Regions from separate parts of the Homo sapiens genome. Here region 1 is linked to region 2. The links are contacts of gene promoters, found by promoter capture Hi-C in human tissues and cell types (Jung and others, 2019). All regions are on one chromosome and are shown on one strand. The core of a region is centred on a gene start or on the middle of the fragment in contact, and the rest is flanking DNA. Distances in the headings are between cores, read along the strand shown. Region 1 holds the start of LOC158434 (a long non-coding RNA gene). Region 2 holds the start of TDRD7 (tudor domain containing 7).

Region 1 (4,058 bases), core at 49-2,548, 1.3 Mb before region 2:
ATCAATGTGTTGGCAGGGCCACGATCTCTCTGAAGGTTCTGGGGGGGATCCCTCCCTTGCCTCTTCCAACTTGTGGTGCTTCCTGGCATTTCTTAGCTGTGACAGCATCACTCCCATCTCTGAGTCCAAGTTCACACGGCTTTCTTCCCTCTGTGTCTCTCTGTGTCTCAAATCTTCTCCTTTCTCTTGCAAAAATATCTACTAGTCAATGGACTTAGGTCCCACCCTAAATCCAGGATGATCTCATCTTGAGACCTTTAACTAGATCATATCTGCAAAAATCTCATTTCCAAATAAGGTCACATTTGCAAGGACCGGGGTAAGGACTTGGAGCTATCTTTTCGGGGACACTTTTCTACCCTCCACACCCACTTACCCTTTCCCCACCACACCTCATCTTCCTTCCTCCACATCCTGGAGCTCACTCTGCTGTCCTGTCCTTCGCCTGCAGGCTTTGACCCAGGGCTGGATGGGAGCTGGAGCAGGAGGCCCAGGCATTGCATCTGGTCTCCACAACAAGACGCTCAGTACCTACGAGTCCAACTTTCAGTCTCCAAGTGTGAGCATACAGAGCAATCTCACAAAGAACCTTCTCACTGGGAAGGAAATGGCTTACACATTAACATGAGTGCACTTAGACAAAGAATAGCTGGCAATGTTGCAATGCTGGAGACAAGTCCCAGCAGCCAGTTGTGCCTTGTTAGAGACTCATTGATTTTGGGTGGCCTGGATTCCATTGTCACCAATGATATGATCATATGGGCCATGTTCCAAATGCCTCTGGCTGTGTTCAGAGGATGAGAAGGGGGAGAGTTAAACAAACCCCCATGCAGAATCTGAAGGCTTTATTCATCCACCCTGGCACTGCTTTGCCCACTGAATAAAACATTCTGTACCCAGGGGCAAGCCCAGGCCCCAGCTGGTACCGTTCCCAATGTCCCACAGGCTTCCAGGCTGCCCTTCAGCACAGACTCCTCCAGAACACTGTGCTCAGGGGCCGCCAAGGTTCCAGCTCCAAGATGCAAACTCTGCCCCAATTGCCAAGGGAGTGGCTGTCTTTGCAGGGCATTGTCTGTGAGTCCTTGATCCCTGTCTTCACTAATGGCAATCCCAGGAAACTGCCTGTGAATAAAAGCCTTCTCAGCCCTGGGGAAGAAACAGGCACAGCTGGCTCAAATTGTCCAGCTGAAGACAGAGCTCAGCCTGGAAGGGACACAGCTCAGTTACCACCGTGCCAGGCAGCTCTTCCTTTTATATAAACATTTGAGGGCAGGGTTCTCAAGCCCCGCTGCCCCCTAGTCCTACCTTTTCTCCATTGTGACCACAGAGGGTTTTGTTGTTGTTGTTGTCATTGTTTCTTGGGGGGTTTTTTTGTTTGTTTTTTGTTGTGTCTTGTTTTCTTTTTGAGGCAAAGGGATAACTCTTTCAGAGGGGCACCTGGAACTGTCTGGTGTGGAAGCTTTTCCTCATTCGGCACAATTTCAAACTTGCGAGCTTTCACAAAGGCGTGGGTGACTGTTTTACTCCTTGATAAAAGTCTGGCATATTCAGAGTTACTGAGACCCAGGAGCGGTATCTAATACTTTGGAAACTAGCAAGGGTTGCTTTATTTCCCATTCTTGATTCTACATTGAAAGTGGGGGATCTTGTTATGCAGATCCTAACACTCTGCCCCTCCCCAAATCCAAATGAAAGGCAAGGTCATTTCACTGGAAATGTGGTAAGCAGTTAGCAGACAATGGGATTGTCCCCAGTGCGGGGTGAGGGTGGATAAGAAACACACAGGTGGGACGGTTAACAACATCAGGAGCTGTGGCTTTATGGAAATTTATGTAAGCATGATGAATTGCACACAGCCATTTGTCTCTATTCCCTCCTAACCCTCCATGAAAGTGACAGGAAAGGGACAAAAAGACATTGGCGCACAAAAGCGAAGAGAACATGAAAGGAGTCACAGCAGAGAGAGGTCAACTGAATGACTGCAAGAGGAAGTCAGATCTAGCAGTGAGTAAGTGAACAGACCACAGGATGCAGAAAGCTAGCACTTCAAGGGCTGGGGCAGGAGCTGCTGGGCAGATTCACAACGCAGAACCCAGGGAGTCTTGGGAAGTGGAAGCATAGGGCATTGCTCATGGGGAATATCCCAGTGGGCTAAAAATGAGAGGATTAATTGAAAATCTATAAAAGAAGAAGTCAGAGATTCCCTTGCTTACCTCACTCAGGACTGGGACCACCCCTCCCTCATCCAGAAGAAGACAAGTGGATGGGGGGAGTTGTTGTCACTTTCTAGAGAAGACAAAGGAAAGGGAGTCCAGGCTCAGGACCCAGGTCTAGGTGAAAACAGTGGAGTGTAATAAAAATCAAGCCCTGTGGCATCCCCTTTCCTCACTTGGCTGTGAACTAGGCCAGGCTCAGGAAATTAGAGAATTCTTCTCTGGGGAAACTCATCAATCCCAGAGATAGGATTTGCAGATAATAATGTTTAAGAGTTCCTCAACAAAATAGCCAGTTTCCTTCTGGGAAGTCCTACTGAAAGAGAAACCTTTGCATGCAGAGTTTCCAATAACCTAATTTATTTGTTTGTTTGTTTATTTTTAAATTTTGAGACAGGGTCTTGTGGTTTCACCCAGGCTGGAGTGCAGTGGGGTTATCATGGCTCACTGCCACTTTGACTTCCCAGGCTCAAGCCATCCTCCCACCTCAGCCTCCCAAGTAGCTGGATCTACAGGCATGTGCCATCATGCCCAGCTAATTTTTAAATTTTTTTTGTAGAGACAGGGTCTTGCTTTGTTACCTAGGCTTTTCTCGAACTCCTGGGCTCCAGCAATCCTCCCACCTTTGCCTCCCAAAGTGCTGGGATTATAGGCATGAGCCACCACACCTGGCTTCCAATCATCTTTTTAGTCTAGCCATTTGCCCTTTAAATATGAATGGACTCAGGAGTAGCAGATATTTGAGGAAAGTCTTTACGAAAGAAAGAAAAAAACATAATAAAGGAATGAGAGGTAATATAGAGAACAAGATACCTTTATAAAATTTGTAATTTATTTTTTAGTGAAAAAGGGAGATGTTGCATCCATAAAACAAGATCAAGGTGCCATATTAAGAGGAACACATAAAAATGATAACATGAAATTTTAAAACTTTCTCATAAAAGTTGGAAGATAAAGAGGATCTCTGATGCTAGAATCATAGAGCTTTTGCTTAAGAATTGCTTACAATGTTTTTCAGATTCTGAATTCTAGCAGAACAGCTGACATCAACCAGTGTGAAAACCCTTATAGAAGAACTATATCAGCATGAGAATGTTTCTTCATCTCCCCTTCCCATGACTTTACCCTGAATTCATCAATCAATCAATGATCCCCACACCTCAGTCCACTCCAAACCCCTTAACATCCCTAGCCCCAAACTCCTCAGGGAGGTGGATGTGCGGTTTCCTCCCATCTCATTAGGCTGCCCTATAATTATTTAATTTGTTCTCTGCTGCTCCCTGGTGTCTCAGCATATTGACTTGCTGTGCATTGGGCAGATGAATCTATTACAAGAGTCCCACCAACTACTGTAGTATTATGACAACAGATCACCTTGGGATTTCAAAATACTGGGAAAAGTGAGAAAACTCTAAATCTTCTGGAGAGACAACCAGAGCCACATAAAGGAGCAGTGTATTAGCCCATTCTCTTTTTTCTTTTTTTTTTTTGAGACGGAGTCTCGCTCTGTCACCCAGGCTGGAGTGCAGTGGCACAATCTCGGCTCACTGCAAGCTCCACCTCCCAGTTTCACACCATTCTCCTGCCTCAGCCTCCCTAGCAGCTGGCACTACAGGTGCCCACCACTCCCCCTGGCTAATTTTTTGTATTTTTATTAGAGATGGGGTTTCACTGTGTTAGCCAGGATGGTCTCGATCTCCTGACCTCGTGATCCACCCGCCTCAGCCTCCCTAGTCCATTCTTACACTGTTAATAAAGACATACCCAAGACTGGGTAATTTATTAAAGAAAAGAGGTTTAATGGACTCACAGTTCCACATGGCTGGGGAGGCCTTATAATCATGG
Region 2 (4,457 bases), core at 987-3,486:
TTCAAAGATGGCACCTTCTTGCTGAATCCTTACACAGTGGAAGGGGCAGAAGGCTCCCTTAAGCCCCTAAGGGCACTAATTCTATTCACAAGGACGAAGCCATCATGACTTCTCAAAGGTCCCACCTCTCAACACCGCAAGAATGGGGATTAGGTTTCAACATGAATTTTGTAGGGACACAAACATTCAGACCATAGCAAAGTCTATTAAAAATCCACTGCAATGTTTGGAGTAGACTGGAAGGGAAAGAACAGAAAGACATCTGAAATAGACTGAAATAGAGCAAAGGAGATGCAGAGAAATTCCAGAGAGAGACATTTAGGCAAACTTAGTCAGGGACCAGATCTAGGATATGAAAGAGAACAGTGTTCAAAGAAAAGCCCTGTTCAAAAACTCTGAACAATTCCCTACCGCCTTTGGGGAAACATCCAAGTGTCTGAGAGCTGGATATCAGGTTTTCCAGATTTACTTCCAATTTTTCTTTGTATTGCCTACTGCATCTTTTCACTGAATCAAAAGCTCTATAAGCACAGGCTTATCCATGAAAATTTGTTATTTAACAGCAGGTGTTCAATATATATTAGTTGATTGTCCATTCACCTTCTGACGGATGTTTGTATTCTTTCCATGTGGGGCTACGGCCAACACAACTGCCATGAGCACTCTTGTACAGGTTTTTGTGTGGACATCTGCTTTCATTTCTCCTGGGTAAATACCCAGGAGCAGAATTGCTGGGTTGCGTGGTAGGTTTGGTACATCCCTACAATACCATTCAGCAATAGAAAGACATGAACTATTGATACATGTAACAACATGGATGAACATAATTTGCTAAATAAAAGAAGCCAGGCAGCCCCCCAAAGGATAGTACATACGATTCCATACATAAAAGTTTTACATATAACTCTAGAAAAAGCAAAATAATCTATAGCAACAGAAAGCAGGTGAGCAGTTGAGGGGGCAAGTGACAGGGAGGGACAAGATATAAGAATTACAAAGGATCACAGTAAAACTTTTTTGGGTGATGGATATGTTCATGATTTTGATTGCAGTGATGGTCTCACAGTGATATATATATATCAAAACTTATCAAACTGTACATTTTAAACATTCAGTTTATTGTATGTCTTATACATGGCAGTCAAGCTGTAATAAAATACCGGTTGAATAAGCAGCAGGTTCTCAGTAAATGCATAATTTATCAAGCTGTACATTTTAAACGTTCAGTTTATTGTATGTCTTATACATGGCAGTCAAGCTGTAATAAAATACCGGTTGAATAAGCAGCAGGTTCTCAGTAAATGCATAATTTATCAAGCTGTACATTTTAAACGTTCAGTTTATTGTATGTCTTATACATGGCAGTCAAGCTGTAATAAAATACCGGTTGAATAAGCAGCAGGTTCTCAGTAAATGCATATCCAATGGTGCAGAGAAGTGTTCAATGTTGGCTGCAGGGATGCAAAGCAGGTGCCAATAAGTGTTGGTGGAATTAATGTGCAGAATAAATAAGTATTCACTTATTAGGTGTTCAATAACTTTAGAGTGAATGAATAAATTTGACAGATATTTATTGCTGATCGTGTGCTAGGCACTATCCTAGGCTCTGGGAATAGGTTAAGGAACCAAACAAAAATCCTTGTGCTCACAGAGCTTTAATTTTAGAAGGATAGCAGACAATAAAAGCATAAGTAAAATACATATAGTGTGCTAGATAGGTGCTAAGGAGAAATAAGGTTGAGAATGGGGATAGGGAAAGTCAAGGAAGGAGGTTGACATGTTAGAGACTGTGTCCACCGTCATTGAAAGGGTAATGCTTGAGAAAGGCCTGAAGGATATGGGCGGACAGAGTGTGTGTCTAGGGCAATAAAAAGTAACTGCTCCAGATGTTGAAGAAAATAATGTGCAGGAGTTGAACTGTTTGGAAGGAGGGTGAGCCCCATAGAAGGAGCCACCCTCGCCCCCTGCTGAGTCCCGGCTCGCTCGGCCCGCGCGTACCTGCGTTGTCCACCAGGAGGCGCTCCCGCACCCGCCCCGCAGGCGTCTTCCGCCGCCGGCCGGTGCGTGGGCACGCGCAGAAACCGCTAGGTGGCGACGGTTTCCCTTCCCACGCGCGGACGCCGGCGTGGGCCGACGCGGCCGGAGCGCCCGCGCGTGCGCAGAGCCGAGGCCAGGCTGCCCTCGAAGCGGGGCGGGGCGAAGCGGGGCGGGGCCGAGCAGGGCGGGGCGGGGGCTTGAGGTGATTCCCAAGCCGCGGGGCGGCTCCGGTGGTGCGGGGAAACCGAAAGTGGGCGGCGGCCGCGGCGGGGCCCCTGGCGGAGACGGCGGCAGGAGCTGGGCCCAGAGACGCGGGGACGGGCCGTGGGCCCCCGGAACGAGGTGAGTGCAGGTCCTGCGGGCTCCGGGCGCGACAGGTGCCGGGCGACGTCGGACGAGATTTCGGGCGGGCGCGGCGCACCTGGGTCACCGGTGGGACCGCGGCCAGGGCCGGGGGCTCCAACAGGCTCGGGGCCTTTTCCCTGCAGCCGCAGGGGATTGCCCCCGCCCCGACGCCTGGGAACCGGGCTGGGCGCCGGGGGAGTTGGAGTTCCAGAGCGTTGTGTTTTAAATCTCTGAAGGGACCCTGCTCCGGGCCGGGCGTTCACGCGGGAGTCGGACGGAGCCTCCTGCCGCCTCGGAAGCTCTGCGCCGTGGGGGAAATGCAGCAGCGGGGTGTGGACGCGGGCGGGAGATGCGGACCAGGAAGTGGTTCCCGCTACCGGCGCGACAGGCCGCAGCCGCCGCCCCCAGCGAGGGATGTCCGCGCTCCCCTATTTGAACCCAAGTATTTTACACCACGAACTTCTCTTGAAGGTCTCTATAATCTGGAGACGAGCCCCAGGCAGGCCGCTTAAGTAATGCAGGACACACATCCCCATTTCTCTCAAACGAGGAGCACCCAGTGGGTACAGAGCACCCAGCTGGGAGGGAAACATGGATCCGTGAGTAAGTTGTCTCTCAACTTTCAGTAGCATCCCCTCAGCAGGGTCAGACTCTCAGCTTCAGCTTGCTAGGAGGGAGCTTGGAGCCGGCATATCTTTCTGCTCCCATTCACTTGAGAGGTATATTTCCATTAATAGCTAAAGGTACCATTCTCAAATAATTTCTAAGAGCAGGGAAGGGAAACAACCACATTAGAACAAGTCCTGGCCCAGAAGAATTCTGATCACCGCCCATCCAAACCAAACCAAACCAAAAAACCACAGATCTAGTTCATTAACCCTCCTACCAACACCTCTCTGCTCTCCAATCGTGCCGGTGAAAAAAATGCAGAGAAATGTTCTCTCTAGAGAGATAGGCAACAGCTTAATAGCAGAAGTAAAACTTGGACCCAAATCCCTGTCTCGTCCTGGGCTGCCTTGATGTGTATGAATGTGTTGCATACTGCAAATAATGTGAACTTTGCAGACCTGGATTGAAATCTGGGCTTCTCATTTTACAAATTGTGTGATCTTGAACAAATTACATGCTTTCTCTTAGCCTGGTTTTCTATGTGTCAAATAGAGGTACCTGGCTTACTTTGCAAGGCTTTTCCAAGATAACCACTGTATATCCTTTGCCTCATAATAATTGCCAAGCAGTATTCACTCTCTTCCTCCCAACAAACGGTCCATGTTTTACATAATTGGATTTTAGTTTTTTGAGGGCAGGGACACAAAGATCTTTGTGTTTACTATATAATATAAATGGGCACATGGTGGATATTTTTGCATTTCCTCTCAGCTGACATTCATTGAGCATCAGTTACGTGCAAAGTACTGTTCTGGGTATAGGGAATTGCCCCTGGGGCCAGCTGGATTAGCACTCACATCTCCTGTGCCCCAATCCAGGGCCCTTTGGTGGCACACAGCCTCCGTCTTTGGTAGTTGCACGGTGAGACTGTGAGGCAGCAGTTGGCAGTGCCTTCAGATTTCAGTCTCTGTAGATTGAAAATGAAGTGTAATCCCCTGCTAATGCCCTTTTAAGTGTACAGGTTGAACATGGCTGAATGAACTATTGTATTGTGCATCAAGAGATTTTAAACTCCTTGCAGAACCCCTCTTTTAAGTTCTCTGTGCAATATAATCTAGCTGGATACTTAATGTGAATATAAAGAAAAAATATAATCCAACCCCGAGTGCCTAATTTGTGTTTGTCAAGTGCTGTTTTCAAGAATTGAGATTTGACATAGAGTGCTTTGCATCTGGACACTTTCACAGAAGTTCCTTGGTGAAATTTTATATTTACGTGAACTGTTGTTTCTTTGTGCCAAACCTGCTTTTTCCTCCCTCCACTCCCACCTCTGTACTTTTGAAAGCTTCATTCTTGTCATTATTTCCCTGTAAGCCAAATATGTTTACAGTTTTGTCTTTCAAACTAAAAGTAATTAATTTTGCAATTTTTAGTTGAAGACATGTATATATGCCAATCAGAACTTG

The links. Contacts are between HindIII fragments. The study calls those that stand out against the background at their distance.
Region 1: a fragment that was not itself captured here is called in contact with the fragment with the promoter of TDRD7 in region 2 in 1 of the 25 tissues and cell types used here (lymphoblastoid cells).

What each region holds. Positions count from the first base shown.
Region 1 is chr9:96,115,854-96,119,911 of GRCh38, forward strand. It overlaps LOC158434 (a long non-coding RNA gene), which reads right to left and starts at 558. Exons shown (of 3, transcript NR_132344.1): 1 at 393-558. The HindIII fragment of the contact is 5,451 bases long and covers 1-4,024 here.
Region 2 is chr9:97,409,860-97,414,316 of GRCh38, forward strand. TDRD7 (tudor domain containing 7) reads left to right here and starts at 2,237. Exons shown (of 17, transcript NM_014290.3): 1 at 2,237-2,379. RefSeq lists silencers at 1,924-2,273, 2,294-2,503, 2,588-2,882 and enhancers at 2,218-2,719, 2,720-3,219, 2,824-3,083. The HindIII fragment of the contact is 10,560 bases long and covers 1-4,457 here.